Linked DNA regions of Homo sapiens: all the other regions are linked to region 2. The links are contacts of gene promoters, found by promoter capture Hi-C in blood cells and fetal thymus (Javierre and others, 2016). All regions are on one chromosome and are shown on one strand. The core of a region is centred on a gene start or on the middle of the fragment in contact, and the rest is flanking DNA. Distances in the headings are between cores, read along the strand shown.

The links. Contacts are between HindIII fragments. The CHiCAGO score rates a contact against its expected background, and 5 or more counts as called.
Region 1: a fragment that was not itself captured here is called in contact with the fragment with the promoter of FMO1 in region 2 in 1 of 17 cell types (total B cells); the score reaches 5.5 in total B cells.
Region 3: a fragment that was not itself captured here is called in contact with the fragment with the promoter of FMO1 in region 2 in 1 of 17 cell types (M1 macrophages); the score reaches 7.7 in M1 macrophages.

Annotation. Positions count from the first base shown.
Region 1 is chr1:169,926,151-169,930,182 of GRCh38, reverse strand. All of the region lies in intron 19 of KIFAP3 (kinesin associated protein 3), which reads left to right. Among named protein-coding and RNA genes, the nearest start is that of SCYL3, 34 kb to the right of the region's middle. The HindIII fragment of the contact is 1,057 bases long and covers 1,275-2,331 here.
Region 2 is chr1:171,246,144-171,249,956 of GRCh38, reverse strand. FMO1 (flavin containing dimethylaniline monoxygenase 1) reads right to left here and starts at 1,463. Exons shown (of 9, transcript NM_001282693.2): 1 at 1,334-1,463. FMO1-AS1 (FMO1 antisense RNA 1) reads left to right here. Exons shown (of 5, transcript XR_922278.4): 2 at 2,230-2,376. The HindIII fragment of the contact is 5,013 bases long and covers 1-3,766 here.
Region 3 is chr1:169,906,052-169,909,881 of GRCh38, reverse strand. No RefSeq gene overlaps it. Among named protein-coding and RNA genes, the nearest start is that of SCYL3, 14 kb to the right of the region's middle. The HindIII fragment of the contact is 151 bases long and covers 2,286-2,436 here.

The sequences.
Region 1 (4,032 bases), core at 554-3,053, 1.3 Mb after region 2:
AAAGGAATAGAAAACTTAATGCAATGATATAGTATCAAAAAGTACCAAGTATAACATCTCCACATTAAAATATAATCACTAAAATATTACTCTGGAGGCAGGTTAATCAACAGATTGAGATGTATAAGAAAAGTATAACTTGAATGAAATTAGAGGAGAGTCAATGAAATGGAATTTCTTTACCATTTAGAATAAATCAGTGCAACTATTTTACACACGTTCCCTTCATCATTAGTACAAATTAGTTTTTATCTGAAGTATCTCAGTGTAGTAACTAAATTGAAAGGATTTTTCCCCAAGGTGCTGTTTTTCACCCTTAGAACTGACAGATGTCCTTCAAAAAATGTTTTTAATAAACTCCAGATGAGTATTTTAAATACAGCCTCCCACTACTCATATAATTTGCCCTTGATTTTTGAAAAAAAATACTAGTTTGAATTCATTAAGAATAAGATTCTTTAAGATGCTGTAGCCATTTAGTTTTATTGTAATAAAAGGAAAATTTATAATTATGCATATAAAAGATTAAGAATAAAACTAAATGGGAAATGACAACTAAACTTGATATATGCTGGTGAAACTCATTAGAAGACTGCTTAACCATGCTCTTGGATTTTATTTTCTCAACAATACAAAAGTTCAAGTCCAAAGAAATGAGTAATACCTTTGAGCAACTTAAAATATATATTTATTACATATAGATTTATAGAAACAAGATGCCATTAATATTGGTTCAATGAAAAATTTTAGAAGCTATGTTATAGTAATAGCACTTTAACATGCATGCATGTTACATTTTTCAGTGTTCAAGACAATTAGCATCTTTTCTTATAACCTCTTTTCTTATGATCTATTTTCTTAGGCACCCAACATTCACAAAACTTTTTTTGCATGTAACTGATAGGTATTTCTATTTAGCTGTAAATTATTTCATAATCATAAAACTGGACATTAATTATCTGCGACAGCAATGGATGCCACATTCTATGAATGTTAAATGTGCTGAGAAGTTTAAATTTAATAATCCTTGCTTTGAAATTTTGTAGAAGTACCTGATACTCAGTGGTAAGACAAGCTCTCCATCTAGTGGTTGGTCTATAAATGACAAACATTTAGATCTCGATGTAGTAGTACATCATTTTACTAGTGTTAGGTATTGTTTTATACTCGTTATTTCGTTCAACCTGCACATCTCTTCTTATTGTAAGAATTTCAAGGAGAAAATATTCTCTTTTCCAAGAACAGTTCAGCCCTGTAGAAGATAGGGGCAAGCTTCTTCTACAATCTGATTTCATCTCCATGGAATACCACAGCATCTCAGTTATTTGATGAAGCATATCCCCATACTAAGGGGGCAAAATTTGCTCCATTCCAATGAAATATAACCTTTAAAATTTCCAGCCAGTTTTCAAATTCTTCTCCTTTAGTCTCAGTCCCCAACTCGTAAAGGTATAACTTTAATTTTTTTTTTTTTTTTTTTTTTGGAGACAGGGTCTCACTCACTCTGTTGCCCAGGCTGGAGTGCAGTGGCGGTCATGGCTCACTGCAGCCTCAACCTCCTGGGCTCAAGTGATCCTCCTGCTTCAAACCCATGAGTAGCTGGGACCATGGGTGTGCACCACCATGCCTGCATAATTTTCTGTATTTTTGTAGAAATGAGGTTTTGCCATGTCTTGAACTCCTGGGCTCAGGCAACCCGCCTACCTCAGCCTCCCAAAGTGCTGGGATTTTAGGCATAAGCAACAGCATCTGGCCTAAAAAAACTATTTTAAAAGAGAAAAGATGGTCCGGGCACAGTGGCTCACGCCTGTAATCCCAGCACTTTGGGAGGCCAAAATGGGTGGATCATGAGGTCAGGAGTTCAAGACCAGCCTGGCCAAGATGCTGAAACCCAGTCTCTACTAAATATACAAAAATTAGCTGGGTGTGGTGGCACACACCTGTAATCCCAGCTAATTTGGAGGCTGAGGCAGGAGAATTGCTTGAACCTGGGTGGCAGAGGTTGCAGTGAGCCAAGATCACGCCACTGCACTCCAGCCTGGGCAACAGAGCAAGACTCCATCTCAAAGAAAAAAAAAAGAGAAAAGATAACATTGTTGTGAATTGTAGCATATTTGATCATTGTTATTTCTGCCAGTACCCCTCTGTAGGTTCTCATTACTTCACATTTGGACAGCTGTAATAGGTTCTTCAGTGTTCATGATTTTGCCTCTCAACCCCCTTTCCTACTACAATTATCTTCCTAAAACATAGAATTTGGTCATTCTCTTTCTTAGCAACCATTGACAACTCTCCAGTAGCCACCAGTTCTTAGCAGGTTTATGAAAAGCTTCAATATCTAGTCCTAACCTCCCTTTCTAGCCTTATCTCCTGCCATTTGCTTATATCATAAATCTAAAACTTTAACCATAACAAACCATTTGCTCTTCGTCAGCCACTCCTCTCTGTTGCTCAGGCTGCTCCACCATCAGGAATTCTGTCTCTCTTTGCCTGTGAGATCTTACTTGACTTTTAAGACTAATTCATTCATGAATTCATGTAATTTTTGAATGCCCACTCCATGTCAGATACAATACTAGAGCCTAGGGATATAGCAATGGCCAAAACACTCCTTGCCCTCCATGGTGTTTATTTTCTAATGGGAAAGAAATACAATAACAAAATATGTCAGGAGGTAACAGATGCATTAAAATCAAAGTATTTTGTATGAAGACTTTCTAGCTGCCAAGATTGTCCTGTAGCAATTTGTACATGTCTCTAATATACTCTTATATTAAATATTTATCCCCCCTCTTTTCTTCTGTAGCAATTTATACATATGCTACAGTAGGATGACATCAGGTTATTATCAGAATATTTCTTCCATGTTAGGTGCCTCCAATCCTTATAGTCAAGGACTATGTCGTATTTGTTATTGCCTTCCCAGCACCATGTTTTTTCCTTGGCTTCAAAAACTATACTTAACCACATTGTAGGAACTCAATAAATGTTTCTACTATTTGGATAGGTGGATGGATGGGCAAATGGTATATAGAGTCACTATTACAATAGACCTAAATTTCCCATGACAAATCATACTTAAGCTGAAATTACCCTGATGATCAATTAACAATCTACTTAGAAAGATAAACATACTGATTTTGATTCTATAATCAATATATTAGAGAAATTGATAAAAAGAATGAACTATTCCAAAAAATTATGAAGAAGTAATTTCATACAGTTTTATAATATCCTGGAAAGTTTCTTCCTATAACAGCTCATGTTAAATTCTTTCACTTGACAATTCCAAAAGAATTCCAGCCTTCAATATTACCTGATGGATCACAAAGACTGGTTTGTTAAGAAAAATCACTGCTGCCTATTTATAAATATGTAGTCATAAATGATTTTGTCTTGGGAAGAATAGAATTCCTAAAGACAGACTCAGACTAAAAAGATGAAATTTAGCATGGTAGTTATAAGTAAAATTTTGAATGTGTGTGTGTGTGTGTGTGTGTACACACACAACTGTACATATATACAGAAAAAACTTAATGTTACATGTAACTATAACTCAATATTATATAACTATATATAACTCAATGTTATATATATATACACATATATACACAGTCAATTATAAGCAGTCAATATTAGGCAACTTTGTGATAATGTCTTCTTAAAATTTTTGTTTAAGATTAATACAGTTTTAGCCTACAATAGTGTAAAGTCAGATATAGGATCTTTTATTCTGTACTGGTTTCAGATCACATCATAAGTATCACGTTAATTTTAGCTTCTTCATTTGAAGACAAACACTAGAAAATGGAAGTGGTTTTAGAGAGCAACTGAGATGGTAAAGATTAGAGACCATGTAATGAGGCTTGAATAAACAAGGGTTGTGAAGCAGTCATATCAAAGAAGAATTGGACTCCTTGTGTGGTTTCAGAGGGTAATTCTAAGACTAGTTGAACTGGATTTTAGAGCTGTGTAATAAAGAACTTTCCAACAGTTTTACATATCCATAAATGGAATGAACTGCCTTGACAA
Region 2 (3,813 bases), core at 214-2,713:
AGTTTTATTTTCCGAGTTTATTTTATTGACCCGGAGATTTTATTTGTTGATGTCAAGAAAATGCATATTATACTATATTTGAGGCTAGCATTGTATCAATTAGCCAATGTTTAACTGTTTCCAGTGTGACTCACCTATGCATTTACTAGGAAGCCATTGGCACTGTCAGATTTGTATCCAGCCCTCTATTTATGCATTCCCCATCTTCTCCTCCTTCCCTACTCCCTCTGTCTCTCTCTCTCACACACACACATACACACACACACACACTCCTACACCTTAGTGCATGAAAATACTTCAGAATACTGGTTGGCACAGACTGCACAATGATACCCTATCCTCAAGTGGGTTGTGACATTTCAGGAGTAATCAGAGAGAGATTCAGCTGGATGGCAGTTGGGGTGGGTGAAGGTGCCTACTTAGCCCCTGGGAACAAAGGAGCACAGCTGGTAAGAAACTTGGGTCCAAGGAGGGCCATACTCTGGGATTTCTGTCCTCTAGCAGCAGCTCCTCATTTACTCAAATGTTCCTAACCACAACAAGCAAATAAAAATTCTCCCAGGCTTTAGGTCCTCTGTGCCAGTTACAAGGCCATAGCAGATTCCCTAGGATGCAGGGGAAACTCTAATAACCAAGGACTCAGTTTCTCCATCTGCAGAACAGATGGCATAGACCTGAATATCTAAAAATGATTTTCAAACCCTTGATGTTTATGATCTTGTGAATTTAACTGGAGCAGGATTAGTAAAAAAGATGTGCCAATCACATGGAAATCAATAAATTTTGACATAATACATAGAATGAAGCACGAAACACTTTTAACAACAGAAAAAAAGATGACATGACAGAACAGATTAGTCAAATTCTAAAGGGGCTTGCCTTTTGCTTCCCACTTGTGCCAAATGCCAACATTTGGTAGTCACCCTTCAAAAACTATGATCTCAGACAATGTTAGAAGCTGCTGATGGAAGCACTAAAAAAAAAAAGAGACTTTTCCTCTTGCATTAGAAATCCAAGTTTTTCCCATTTGATTCAACCACTTAATAATCTACCCAACAGTATACTTACCTGTGTACATGGAAGACAGGTAAGTATACTGCTGGGTAGATTATTAAGTGGTTGAATCAATGATATTGTCCCATTATAAGTATCCAAACATTTACTACTCCTATACTTTGGGCCAAGGAGTAGCTTTATAGCTCCTCCAGGGTTGGACAGAGAAAGCTGCTTTCTGATAAGGTGGTTCTTCCCTGGAGCACAATAACAAAACAGGAAAACTCCAGACCCCACTTTCCTCATCCAAAGAAATCAGAGATTATATCTGGTTACTTACTTTACGTACTTGTAATTTCTGGTGCCAATGGCTCTGCCACGCAGGACTCTGGTATTAGCAGAGATCAAAATGAATCAGTATGAGCCAGTGCTGGCTTGGGAGTCCCCAGCACAGTGGATAAACCTGGTCTAAGAGATAAGGAATGTTAAATTTGAAACCCAAGGTTAGCCGTTGTTTATATTTTAACTTGTTGATTAATGCAACAGCGAAATGCTAGGAGAAACACTGTCTGGTGATATGTACTTTAGACTCACTCTTCTGCTTACAGACTATAAACTAAGTTAGGGAGTTACACCAGCATCCTCACTTGTTCATCAGTTTTATTCTTTAAGGGGATGAGAATAAAATAAGACAATTATGTTAACAGTTACTACACCACAGATTCACTTTTAAGGGCTTTGATCCATTTCACCTTTAGGGACAATTATTATTTTTAAAAAATCATATATTACTCACATTAGTAAACTCAATTTGTAAAGGCTTTTTAAGTGCAGCTGATTGCCCAAGCACTTGGGAAATAAAAGACAGGTATATGGGAGGAGTCTGATCTTGGGAATCACAAGTCCTGGGTTCGAGTATTGCGTTCACCAGCTATTATCAGAGTCATGTTGGAAAAATTGTATAACTTTTCTCAGCTTTAGTTTCCTCAATTTAAAATAGGCATGATCGAGTGGCTGCCAGGGGCTGGGGAAAGAAGGGAATGGGGAAGGATTGCTAATGAGTATGGAGTTTTCTTTTGGGTGTGATGAAAGTGTTTTGAAACTGGATAGAGGTTGTGGTTACACAGCATTATGAATGTACTAAATGCCACTGAATTCTATACTTTGAAATGGTTAACGACAGATTGTTGGAAAATGGTGGATAGGAGGCAGGACTAACTTGCAGTTTCCACGCAGACAGACAGAACAGCATGTGGAGACTCACACAGTGAAATTTTCCTCCAAGAAGTACTGCATGAACATACCAGGAAAACCAAAAGAATTCACAGGACCTTTGAAAGAAGTGGCTTGCCGCTGCAAACTCCATGAGACAGCTGAAAAACTGTGAGTGCCCAAAGTGTGAGTGGGGGAAAAAATCTGCCTCCAAACACGCAAACCCACTAGGGAACCTAAAAATCCAGATCACAGGAGAAGGATTTAACCTTACCTAGAGCTGGGATGAATTTAGAGAGCAAAACGAAATATAAAAGTAGAAGCAGTGGGAAGAGCCCTGTAGGTACTCTTGGTGCCCAGGGAAGTCATTTCTGACTTTATCTCACAGGGGTCCTTGAGGAGGGCTGCCAGTGAAATTGAGGAAGGACCACAGGGAGAAGGAAACTTCCAGCTGAACTTTGTAATAGTTTTGACTATTAGCCTGAGAAACACGAATACTTATCCAGGAGACCTTAGGGCAATCTTGCATTCTCCCTATACTACCGCAGCTGATGCTGTCTTGAAAATGAGGAAAAGGAGTCATTATACAAAAAAGATACTTGAACACACTTGTTTATAGCAGCACAATTTGCAATTGCAAAAAATGAAACCAGCCAAAATGCCCATCAATCAATGAGTGGATAAATAATTCGTGGTATATACATACCATGGAATACTACTCAGCCATAAAAAGGGATGAAATAATGGCATTCACAGCAACCTGGATGGAGTTGCAGACCATTATCCTAAGTGAAGTAACTTGGGAGTGGAAAACTGAACATTCTATGTTCTCACTCATAAGTTGGAGCTAGGCTATGAGAATACAAAGGCATAAAAATGATACAATGGACTTTGGGGACTTGGGGGTAAGTGTTGGAGTGGGGGGTGATGCATAAAAGACTACACATTGGGTATAGTGTACACTGCTCAGATGATGGGTGCACCAAAACCCACAAATCACCATTAAAGAACTTATCCAGGTAACAAAACACCACCTGCTCCCCCAAAAGCTATTGAAATAAATAAAATAAAAAATTCTAAAAAATAAATAAAACAGGCATAATAACATCTGCATCAGATAGTTGTGGTGGGGATTAGATGAGATAATCTATGTCAAGAGATTTGTGTATATATAGTAAATACTGTGTATGATTGTAATGATGATAATGATGATGATGATGATGCTGTCATTGTTGGACCAGATAAGGTGTCTTGATTGCTGGTTCATAACACTGAAATGACTCCCACAGGTACAGAGAATAAATTCCATGAGAGGTTGGTGGACTGAAGCAGAGAGAAATTTCTGAAAGAATATGTCTTTTTCCTTGATTTTCAACATGGTATAACCCTTTGACCTGGAGGTCCTGTGTATCACTGAGTATACTGCTTGCTCATTGGGCTCACCTTTTGCCTCATTTCTGGCTTATTAAGTATTCAGCACAGAGACAGCATTGTTAGCTCTGTGAAATTCAGCTGCTTTGCTGCAGCTATGAAAATAATAATATTTGGATGATTTCAAGCTTAATTATACCCAGAGAGTAAGCCTTTAAAATGACTATTAGTTCAAGT
Region 3 (3,830 bases), core at 1,112-3,611, 1.3 Mb after region 2:
AGCTTTAAAAATATATATATCCAACTCAAACCAATTAAATCATCTTTGGGGATGGAACACATGCATCACGTGGTTTAAAAGTTCTGCCAGGTCCCGACGGGCTGCCCGGCCGTGCACCGGGACCGGGTCGGGTGCAGAGAGCCCCTAGTCCTGGGAAATGGGGTGCAGCCGAAAAGGCAGCCACCCCCACGCCCTTCATACAAGGCACGTTCGTAGGGAACCTGGCGCTGAATCACTCAGAGACGACCTGCTTCTGGGTCGGGGTTTGGGGTTTCCTATGTAGCAGAGCAACTCTCTCGCTGAAATGTATTGAAAGTCAGCCCTGGACATATAAAAAATTTTTTTTAATTATTTCAAAAAAAATTCTGCCAGGTGATTTTAATGTGCAACCAGGGTTGAGAATTGCTAGTTCATAGGAAATTAACTGGTAGGTATATCTTCAGTATCTGAAACCAGTAAATACACAGGAATTCCCACATGAAACTTCTTGAAATGGCTGTGTGCTTGTTTATAGTTTAGGTATAGGTTCCTTAGTTATAGGTTCCTGTCCAGGTTATATGGGAGAGCAAGGATGTTGTGAGCATGAAATTCTTGTGCCAGTAGATACTACATCTGTATTATTTGTTCCAGCAGATGTGGCAGATGCTGATGTTATAATGTAACTACAATTACTGTTTGTAGTTCAGGCAACAGGACACAGGGGTTCTGCTTCCACATCAGATACATTGGTTGACCTAAAAGTAGCAACAGCAAAAGCTACCATCCTGAGTACCTACAAGCACACAATATAGTACACACAAAACCAGCTGCCGTAGTGGTAATCACTAATGGCTGTTGAGTTGCACAACTGGTCATAAATATTGTCATCATCCCTAATACAATTAAAAGTATAGTGTATATAGTGTAACAGTGTAGCCAAAATTGTCACCAAAGGGTAAATATAACTTTAGTCCATTATATCTTAGGCCTTTTTTTCTTAGCTTGTTCATCACCAGATGTGAGTCATCTGGTCTCTTAGTTACCTATTTCTGTTTCTGCCTTCACCACTACTTCCTTTTTGTTTTTTTGTTTTTGCTTTTTTTTTTTTTTTTTTTTTGAGATGAAGTCTCCCTCTGTCACCCAAGCTGGAGTGCAGTGGCGCAATCTTGGCTCACTGCAAGCTCCGCCTCCTGGGTTCAAGCGATTCTCCTGCCTCACCCTCCCAAAGTAGCTGGGACTACAGGTGCGTACCACCACACCTAGCTGTACTACTTCCATTTCTTTAATGCAAGTCTCTCTCTGAGTAATCAGGCCTCTAGTCCTGCAAAATAAGTGTTTGACACTAATAGAAGGTATTTATTCTAGCCTAAATAGCTATCCTCTCCTATCAGACAAGCTCATTTCCTCATTGGAGGGAAAACTCCTAGCAATGCTTCTTCTTTGCCTTGGGAATATATCCATTGAGTCCCATCAGCTAGAGGAAGGAGAAGAAAAACTGAATGCAATTAGGGACCCCACAAGCCTTTCTGAAAAGTAATTTTCCTCTTCTGCATCTGGTTGTGTACCATCACTTGATGCAGTATGGAAGTGCCTCAGATTCTCTCCAAGTGGTTGGAGTACCCTCTTTATATTCTTCATTTAATTCCCTAATCTATTGGATTCAGAGATGGAAATAACCCCTATTGTCCCAGTTTTCCTTTTTATAGGCTTGTGGTTCAAGTTAGAGCATCTATTTCATATATTTATAAACCTCTCCCTCATCAAGTTGGTATCTACATACATCAGCAGGGCTTTCTATAGTTACTTTTCCCAAGCTGGGTTTACACTAATTATCGAGGCATTTTGTTTCCATCTATGTGACCATATAGTCAGCCCATCAGCCGCAGCCCACCAATCACCTGGCTTCTTGTACTGTCTGCATTGAAACTACCTGGAGCTAAATATATTGTGCCAATTTGCTTGGTCCTTCTTTTCTGAGGGCATGTAGGTGGGAAGGCAGAGCCTAGCATTTAACTTTATTTCAGGTTATGGTGGCATTGCTATCCGTGACGCACTAGTAGTCTTTGTGTTTCCACTGTAAATCCTACCAGGGTATTTTCCTCTTATCACAGGTTCCCCTTTGATCTCAGTTGACACAGCCATCCTTCAGAATAGTGGAGGCCCAGTGTCTGCCATGCCGCCTTCTTGTGAGTGTAATATTTTGGCCCCTTCCTTAAAGTACGATTGATATTTTAATTCGCTCCAGATCTGAGCCATCACTCTGGACTGTTCGCAGTTTAATCTGTTTCAAAATATAGTTAGAAGCTTTGTTGCTACGATGTAGGCACCAGACCCATAAGACCTTCCAACTCAAGTAGCTCCAACTGGACCAAAAGTGGTTGTTTTTCTAAGGGCATAAATTTGTTTGTATCCCCTGGAATCCCTTACATCAAAATCCCACTGGTGGCTCCTGAAGCTTTCCTGACCTGATAGGGATCATCCACAGATCTAAGATCCAGAATCCAGTAAGTAATGCCACTAAAGAAAATTCTGAGACTAATGGGGGCACCTCTTTTTAATTGGGCTTGTATCAGTCAGAGTTTGATCAGAAAAACAGAACCACTATGAGTGATATAGCATATGGAATTTATTACAGGATTACCTCTTGTACAATTATAGCACCATTGTATAATATGAAACTATTCAAAGGAAGTAAAAATGAGCTCTAAGGAACATTCCCTGGCCCTAGAGTAAAGGGAACTGGCACATGTTCCTGGCACCATTTCAGATTTTCTATGAACCCAAGATGACTACACATCTCTGTTTCCATGGGAGTATCCTTTGTGGTTATTGTGTCCATCTCACTGTTGCATGTTGGGTAAGGGTGGAGAGTTCAAGATGGCAGGTACCTTCTTTCAGTCCACAGGTTCTAGATCAAGAAGAGCCATACTAGAAGAGAACCTGAACACCACTCCCAAAGAGCCTCATCCATGCCTGGATGTGATTTTGATGATGAGATCCTACACTTTAAACCAGAGCCTAATGCCATAACGATAGGAGGTTTTTGGCAGAGGAGGTAAGCATATTTTGCTTGTGGATGGGATGTAAATAACTGTGGCAGAAGGAGATATGTAACTAAAAAAGGTGACCATGGTATTCTCCAGCTCCTCTCATCAAAAGATGGACTCTATTTCCTCACTTTTTGAAACTGGGCTTCCCTTGTATCTCACTTCTACCAATAGAATGAGACAGAAATGATGAGTGAGTTCTTACAGGTTCAGCTCTTTTTCCTTCTTCTCTACAATTTACTACTGTTTCAAGTCTGCTGTGTAATCAGCACTGCACTAGTACATGAATATGAAGCTGAACCCCTCAGATTATATCTATTACAGCTTGCACCAGGTGGGACATGGAGCTGCCCACTAAGGCTTAGACTCCAGGAGGGTGAGTCAAGGAAACATCACCTTTTGGTTAGCTTAACTGTCAGGGTTTTTTCTTTTTTCTTTTATTTTTTTTTTACCAGAAGCAGAAATACTTTTTATTCTTTTAAAAATGTTTGTTATTTTTATTTTTTATTATACTTTAAGTTCTAGGGTACATGTGCACAACATGCAAGTTCATTACATATGTATACATGTGCCATGTTGGTGTGCTGCACCCATCAACTCGTCATTTACATTAGGTATATCTCTAATGCTATCCCTCCCACCTCCTCTCACCCCACAACAGGCCCCGGTGTGTAATGTTCCCCTTCCTGTGTCCAAGTGTTCTCATTGTTCAATTCCCACCTGTGAGTGAGAACATGCAGTGTTTGGTTTTCTGTCCTTGCGATAGTTTGCTCAGAATGATGGTTTCCAGCTTCCTCCATGTCC